Linked DNA regions of Homo sapiens: region 2 is linked to region 1. The links are contacts of gene promoters, found by promoter capture Hi-C in blood cells and fetal thymus (Javierre and others, 2016). All regions are on one chromosome and are shown on one strand. The core of a region is centred on a gene start or on the middle of the fragment in contact, and the rest is flanking DNA. Distances in the headings are between cores, read along the strand shown.

What was found. The method cuts DNA at HindIII sites, captures the fragments that hold promoters and counts their contacts. A CHiCAGO score of 5 or more calls a contact.
Region 2: a contact is called between a fragment that was not itself captured here and the fragment with the promoter of PPBP in region 1, in 1 of 17 cell types (megakaryocytes). The highest score is 16.4, in megakaryocytes.

The regions. Positions count from the first base shown.
Region 1 is chr4:73,986,899-73,991,094 of GRCh38, forward strand. PPBP (pro-platelet basic protein) reads right to left here and starts at 1,292. Exons shown (of 3, transcript NM_002704.3): 1 at 1,058-1,292; 2 at 619-754; 3 at 1-476. The coding sequence starts at 1,205. The coding sequence ends at 374. The HindIII fragment of the contact is 3,234 bases long and covers 1-2,723 here.
Region 2 is chr4:74,096,741-74,100,547 of GRCh38, forward strand. It overlaps CXCL2 (C-X-C motif chemokine ligand 2), which reads right to left and starts at 2,455. Exons shown (of 4, transcript NM_002089.4): 1 at 2,281-2,455; 2 at 2,059-2,182; 3 at 1,861-1,944; 4 at 300-1,031. The coding sequence starts at 2,380. The coding sequence ends at 1,016. The HindIII fragment of the contact is 364 bases long and covers 1,553-1,916 here.

The sequences.
Region 1 (4,196 bases), core at 42-2,541:
TCCTATTATCATTGACCATTATGAAATCTAATAATACCCATGAGTATGTCTAATAACCATAAAGTAGACCAGGAAAAATCAACCAAGTTGTGTTAGAATAGAAATTTTTAAAGAAAAAAATGCAAAGTACAGTCCAATGTTTAGGCAAGAATTAGAGGGTTGAAACCAGGCTTATTTATTTTCATCTTCTTTCTGCCATCTTTTAACCAACCTTCTCAGAATAAAATGTGATTTTTGAGACAGAATGAAACACATATCCAAATTTTAATACAGTAAGAATAGGTATCCTGAATAAATGAGAACTCTAGAAAATCAAGGTTTCAAAATTCTACCCTTCCTGGGAGTTAAAGAAGTTTGGCAGAAACAGAACAAATTAATCAGCAGATTCATCACCTGCCAATTTTTTCTGTACAATTTTCTTGATTCTGGGAGCATCTGGGTCCAGGCAGATTTTCCTCCCATCCTTCAGTGTGGCTCTGCAAAAGAGAACAGGGTTATCTGTGGGTGTCCTGATCTGAATATCAGAACTAATCCATGAGACTGGAGGAAACGAGTGCATATGTGGATGGAGGTAGAGGGTTTCTCTGATAAGGCAATAGCACAGAAACAGCAACTTACATCACTTCGACTTGGTTGCAATGGGTTCCTTTCCCGATCACTTCCAAACTTTGGATGTTTTTGGGATGAATTCCAGAGGTTGTCTTTATACACATGCAGCGGAGTTCAGCATACAAGTCACTGTCTAGACTTTCCTCTAGGGTAGAAAATGTGACCTATTGGTGGTCATGAATATTTTCCTCAGGTCTCTTATTTGCAGATTGAGGGCAATTGTACCTCTCTCATAAAGCCATTGTGAATATGATCTGTAACGCTTTAGTAAAGTGCCCAGAAGATTGCCCAGCACACAAGAAGTGAGAAGTGACCCCCCTGTGTGTCTCCTCCAATTGGAGTTATTGGTATAATGGCCCTCTCCAGCCCCAAAGGCACCAAGCTAGTCTTTACCCCAGAGACAGGTGTAGCAGAAGCAGCAACAAGTGCAGAGAAGCAGGGCCTCTACCTTTGCCTTTCGCCAAGTTTCTCTTAGTTTGTCCTTTGGTGGAGGAAGCCAGAGCAGTCAGCAGCAATGACAGAAGCAGCAGCACCTGCAAGGCATGAAGTGGTCTCGCACTGTTACAGGAAGGGGTGGTATCAAGTCTGAGGCTCATGGTGGAGAAGGCTGAGCTAGAGTTGTTTCCAGAACCAGAAGACCTCTGAGTGAGGGTGAGTTGCTGCCTACAAGTCTGCAGATAAGTGGCTTCTCATGCCCTGAAGATGTCATTTATATGCTCTTTCTCAAAGCCAGTAAGAAGGAAGAGGTAGGAAAGGAGGAAGTGAGGGTATGTGGTGATACACACATAAGCATTTGAAGCTGTGCCCAACCCAGAGAAAGACCAGACAGGTCAAATTCCTACTAACTTGCTTAATGTGCATCACTTCACATTCCCACTCTCCCTTTCTCAATACTTATCTTCCTTACACCTGTGTAAGAACTCCGTTCAGGAAGGTAAGAACTAGACTGAAATACTACATGCATTTTCTTTGTATGATTTATAACAATACGCCCTGCCTTTTCTATACTGCAGTTTTTAGGCTTAATAGAAACTTTAGGAGCACCTGAAGGCACAAACATGTGGCCCTTGAAAGAGAAAGTTATCTTTGCTTGCCAAAGAAAGCAAATGTTCTTTTCATGAATGTTGATAAATATTGGGATTGGTTTGGAGCATGTAAGTAAAATAAGAGCCAATTACCGTCAAAGGTTGTCTTTGGATTTTAGCTTATTGGATTCTTTCTGCCTTCAATCTATATTATCTTTTGTAATTTCATCTAGAAACTACAAATGAAACTCATCCTCCTTTATATTACAAAAGAAGCTACTTGTTTCTACCACCTAAGAATACCTAAAAAGTAGGACCCAGCATATTTATTTTTCTTTTTATTTTTAATTTAACAGAAAAATTATATAATTTATTGCAAAAGATTCGTATGCTGCAGATGTCTTTGAAATAAAACACAAATTTCTCTTCATCATTTCTCCACATTCCTACTATTCAGTGGTAAACACTGGTAACAATTTTGCATTAGTTTTCAATTCTGTCTGCACTTATATGCACACATGTATATGTATACAATGAGACACGTTTAAGACATAGAGGTACACATATACATAGAAGTATTGTATATGGATCACTATACAGCTGACTTTTATCCTTCAAAAAATATGTGTTCCTTATCTTTTCAGGTCATCTTAATGTAGTTTTCCCCCATTCTTCTTAATGACCATGTGACGTCCTGTGATAAGAACAATAGTTACTCAACCTTGCCTTGTTGGTGCCCTTCACGGTGTTTCCAATTTTGCACTATTAGAAATTGTGCAAGAAATGTCCTTACCAAGGAAAATATTTGTTCCTGAATTCTCAGACCCAAATTAAAGGTTTTGGTCTGAAATGCTATATCCCTACAAAGATAGAGAGGTGGACCTACACATTACATGTTGGCTTTATGTTATTTTCTGGTTCTCTGTCCCATCTGTAAGACTTCCTTCCTCAATTGAACCATGCACTTTTGTAGGGAGTGGCATGTCCTGTGTTTGTTTGAATGTCTCATGTATCCTATAACATGTAGGATACTTCAATATAAAGTAGGTCTTAAATAATTAATAAATCAATGAATACGTATCACATGAAAGCTTCCCTATCCTTTCTAATCACCTACAATTCCAGGCCAAACTCGACAGGACCCAAAGCAACTATGCTATTTAAATTTATTTGGAAGATTGTCAATAAAGAAGAGGCAGATGTAAGTGGCACTGGCAACAAGTTTTCTTCCTTTTACAACTATGTATAAGTCTCACAGAATATTATTTAAATTTTCCATATTCTTTTCTTACTTTTCATATCCTTAAATTTTAGAAGAAATGCTTAAAATACTAAATGTTCAAAATTACTCTCTATCAAAAAGATGAATATAGTAATTTTTTAAATCATGTTTTTGTTTTCAAGCCAATTTTCCCTATTGTTTAATAGTTATCTACTATGTCTACTCAAGTTCTCAGGTCCTGTTTTTAAATGCGATAACCTACAGACCACATTTGACAGTTTACTTTAGAAGTAAGCAGACTTCCAAATTAACTCGCCCTGGAAAGGTTTCGTGACTTGATGGTGACATTCTATCTCTGAGTAAAGTATTTTATTACGAGTTCCTCAAATGATTGATGTACTAATTACTGTAGAACCTACTGACACTAAATAGGACAATGATTTATTTCTAAGTTTAGCTGAAACAAAAAGTTTTATTGATTGTTTTGTATGTAGACATTTAGCCTGTATGCTGTAATCTGTAGCTAATGATTTTAACTTCGGTATTGTACCCTCCAATGAAAAAGAAGACAACTCTGGTATGAGGAGTTTTTCTGCCTTATTTTAAGCTTTTCTATTATATAAAGCCCTTGTAACTTGTGAAAGACTCTAGAACACCCCCAACTTTGTGGATGTGTCTTCCCAGGTCTGTCTTCCCAGTTGGCTTTCAATAAACATGTATAAAATTATTTCTGCCTCACTAGCCTTAGTTTCAGTTGATGAATGTATTTCTTATTTTTCTCCACCTCATTTATTGTTTTCTTTAAATTAGAGTTTAGCAGTAGAGCATATTTAATTGGAATGATTTTTCTCCCTGTCACAACATAGAAATTTCTAGTCTTAAGCAAGCTTAAAGGAAGGGTGTAAGCTGAGAGTTCGGAGTCTTCTGAGAGTTGAGATGTGGAGTTAATTGCAGAGATAAGCTCAGCAGGACACAAAATGAGGGGAGCAGACTTCTTTCTCTTTCCTCCTGTGGGGTGACTTTATAGCTTTTCTTCATTATTGAGATTGAGATATTGTGAATTCGCAAGTCATATACATTTTCAAACATAAGATCAAAGCCATTTCCAGAACAAGATATAAAGGTTTTTTTTTTAACACTATTCATAGTATATTTCATTTTCTGTTCAACACCAAAATACATTGCTGAAAATGTTTATTGGCTTCACTGGACACCTTTTTTCCCCCTACTTAACGTTATCCAGATTTCTTTCCTCGTTCATTAGTAAGATTTCCTAAAAGTTCCTAATCGTTTTAAGAAAACTGTATGAAAAGTTTTCTGAAGTAATGATGCTTTTGAGT
Region 2 (3,807 bases), core at 485-2,984, 110 kb after region 1:
ATTTTTAAGGAGGTAAATTTGAGTAGCAAGGTAGTAAGGAACTTCTTGTAAAAATGGCAATATGTATCAGTGATTCTCCCATCAGGGGCAAGACCATAGTTTGGTAAGGCACATTCTTTACTAGGTGAGAGCCAAGGGGAGTGACAGCAATCACCACATGAAATTAGGCATAATTCATAGTTTATCTGTATAGCAGATTGAAAACCCAGAAAAAAATTGAGAAATAAATATTGATGTAAATCATCAGATTTTTCAGCAAATATAGTCCTTGTTTCCCCCAAAATAAAACAAACATTTTATATTTTTAAATATTTTATTTTCCTGTTCTTTGTGAAAACATCAATAAATATCGAAACCTCTCTGCTCTAACACAGAGGGAAACACTGCATAATTAACATTAAACAAGGCAGTATGCCTTACAAGAAAGACATAAAATGTCCAAGGGATATTTAGAACATTTTAGTTCTTAAAGCTTCAACATGAGAAATGTTGACCACACACTGTGAAATCATTTCAATAAATAACAACTGACATTCATCTTTACAGTTACAAAATAGACACACATACATTTCCCTGCCGTCACATTGATCTCACTGGCCATTTTCTTGGATTCCTCAGCCTCTATCACAGTGGCTGACATGTGATATGTCATCACGAAGAAATATTAACAAATGACTAGAGAATATCTGCAAACCTTCTATCTTCAAATTAAATATGAATCAGGATTGAACTAACTTGGGTTTGACCTAAAATAAACAATAAATATAATGGGAGAGTGTGCAAGTAGATTCAATCATAACCTTATTTTACACATAAAATATTAACATAGAATCTTCTAAAACAAACAAATAAATAAATAAATAAATAAATAGAAGACTTCTCCTAAGTGATGCTCAAACACATTAGGCGCAATCCAGGTGGCCTCTGCAGCTGTGTCTCTCTTTCCTCTTCTGTTCCTGTAAGGGCAGGGCCTCCTTCAGGAACAGCCACCAATAAGCTTCCTCCTTCCTTCTGGTCAGTTGGATTTGCCACTGTAATGAGAAAATGGGTGCCCTGAGTAGGTGCTCAGGAAAGCTGACTGCACAACAGTCTTCTCCTGTCCTGTTTCCCCAGGCTCTAGAGTTTTCTGAATGCAGTTTCCCCAGCCTGGCACCCAAGTGGGTACTGCCTGTGACAGCTGTGCTGTGTGGCAAGGACCTCTAGGCTTGGGATGCTCTTTTAGGAATGGGGGTGACGTGGGGTGGAGGAGTGGCAGTCTACACTGTTTTACTGGCTAAAACAGCCAGAGCCTATTGCTCTTTGTCATACTGGGCCTCACTTGAGCCTCAAAGCAACCTCATGATGTAGCTACCATTATTTTCCCTGTTTTGCTGAGTCTCAGATAAACTAAATAATATTGTCTCTGAGTGACATGGCTAATAGGTGGTGGCAACCAGTTATATACCCAGTGCAATATTATTGTGAAATCTCTGCACTTCAACCCTAAACTTTTACAAAAAACCAGGGGGTCTGCTTTTCAGGTCTGAAAGTCAGTAGGAACTAGGGGAAATGAAGCTTGTGTTTTTTAACAGGTGGAAAACACTTCAGCACAACTGGCAAACTCCAATGAGACCTTACATGAAAGCAGTTTTACCTACATTCACTGGCAGGAGGGAAGAACCTGGGTGGTGACCCTGGGCACTGGGAATATCCTCTGGCACCAGAACAGATTAATAACCTTAATGGCAACTTTGTGAAAATAATAATTTTTTCAGTCCTGCAGCTAACCCTGGGTTTTCCTGATTTACTTTTTAGGGGGCAGACGCCAGTATTTCTGACCAACAGCTCCAGTCGCCTGTGTACATGGAAATTATAACTTACTTTTTCAGCATCTTTTCGATGATTTTCTTAACCATGGGCGATGCGGGGTTGAGACAAGCTTTCTGCCCATTCTTGAGTGTGGCTCTGCAGAGAGAAGGGAATCTCGTGAGACAGGAGGTCGGGCTGAGGACAGGGTTTGGGGCAGCGGGAGAGTCGGGGACCCCAGCAGTGGCAGCGGCAGCGATGGGCGAGACTTACATGACTTCGGTTTGGGCGCAGTGGGGTCCGGGGGACTTCACCTTCACACTTTGGATGTTCTTGAGGTGAATTCCCTGCAGGGTCTGCAAGCACTGGCAGCGCAGTTCAGTGGCCAGGGGCGCTCCTAGGGAAGAAGAGACTCGCTGATTGAGCGGGGCTGTCGGCGCGGGGCGCCCACCCCAGCCGCGTCCGGCCCGGGGACCCCAGGGCGCCGGGACCCACCTGCTGCGCGCCGGCTGGCGGCCACCAGGAGCAGGAGCAGCAGCGCCACCCGCAGGAGCCGGGGATTGCTGGGGGCGGCGGAGAGCGTGGCGCGGGCCATGGGGCTCAGCAGGCGGTTCGAGCGGCTGTGCGAGGAGGAGAGCTGGCAAGGAGCTGCCTGTGGCCCGGGCTCTGTGGCTCTCCGAGAACGGCGAACCCCTTTTATGCATGGTTGGGGCTGGAAAGCCCGGAGTCCCGGGCCAGGGAAATTCCCGGAGCTCCAGATCGATCCCGAGTTCGGAAGGAAGGCGATGGCCCCGCCTCTGGGGTGGAGGGGGGTCGGGGCACTCACGAGTGACGTCCGGGTCTGACTGTCTTGCGTAACTCCCGCCAACTGTGGGATGTTCTCTTTCTGCCCCGAATCCCTGGAGCGGGAGCGAGAGCCCGCCGCTCTCAGAGATACCGAGATAACCGCCTGCGAGGAGGCGCTTCGTGAACCCAGTGCAGTGCGTCGTGGGTCAGATCCCTTAGACCCACGTAGGGACCGCGCTACATCCTTACCGGGGGGAGTTACTTCTCTGGAAGACATTTCAGTTGTTGGGATTGAAAGTTAGGGCAAGAACTGCAGCATGTCTTATCTATCCTCTCTCTTTAGTTTGGGTTCTGCAAATTTCATTAATGTTTGAAATAAACGCACGCTTTAACAGTACATGTGTCATCTCAGATGACGCATAAGAGCTTTTGTCTCCTTCCTGGTGTTTTATGATCTTAAAAGCAAATATCACGTGTGTGTGTGTGTGTGTGTGTGTGTGTGTGTGTGTGTGTGTGTGTTTCAACGTAGTGGAGCCAGGTGTTGGGTGCGGGAACAGACCATTGCCAAGGGTCAATTCAGTGTTTATTTTAGTTAACAGTGTTGCAATCCCCCATCCTTTCTCTCTTTGAAATCTTGGAACATCTCGAACTCTAGTAATTCCAGTAGCATCAATTTTTTGTTGTATGGAAGTCTGTGTTTTGATCCATGGAAGTCACTGGGAGCTGCGAGGGGCCTGTTGGGCTCAGGAGGTCTGCCTTTTCTAGTGCTGTCCCTGGGCAGAAAAGGCCATAGACACCACCAGAAAAGGAGCAGGGAATGAGACTCCGCTTGTTTACTACTCTAAGCACAAGCAGACATGTCTGATATATACATACTAGATTGCTAACATAATTGCATTTCCATGCCATATGTATTTACCAGCATCCTGGGATTGGTTCCCTCTAGAGAAACAGCTATCGAGGAAATTTTAGTTCTAGAGGAATGTCAATAAAGCATTTCCAAGCCTGTTTAGCTGATGCCTTCTCACTGGATTACTGACTTTTCATCATCAATTTCAATGACCCCCTCTCTTTAAAAATTAAGCTGTAGGCCTACAATACTCTGTCTTAATTCTTCCTGGTGGATGCAGACTTCAGGGATATGGAGATATTCTGCCACTGCTATGAGAAGGGCTGGGAGTGGCACGAGGATGAAGAAGTGGGACTACCTTAGGAATAGAGTGTTCCCTGGATGCT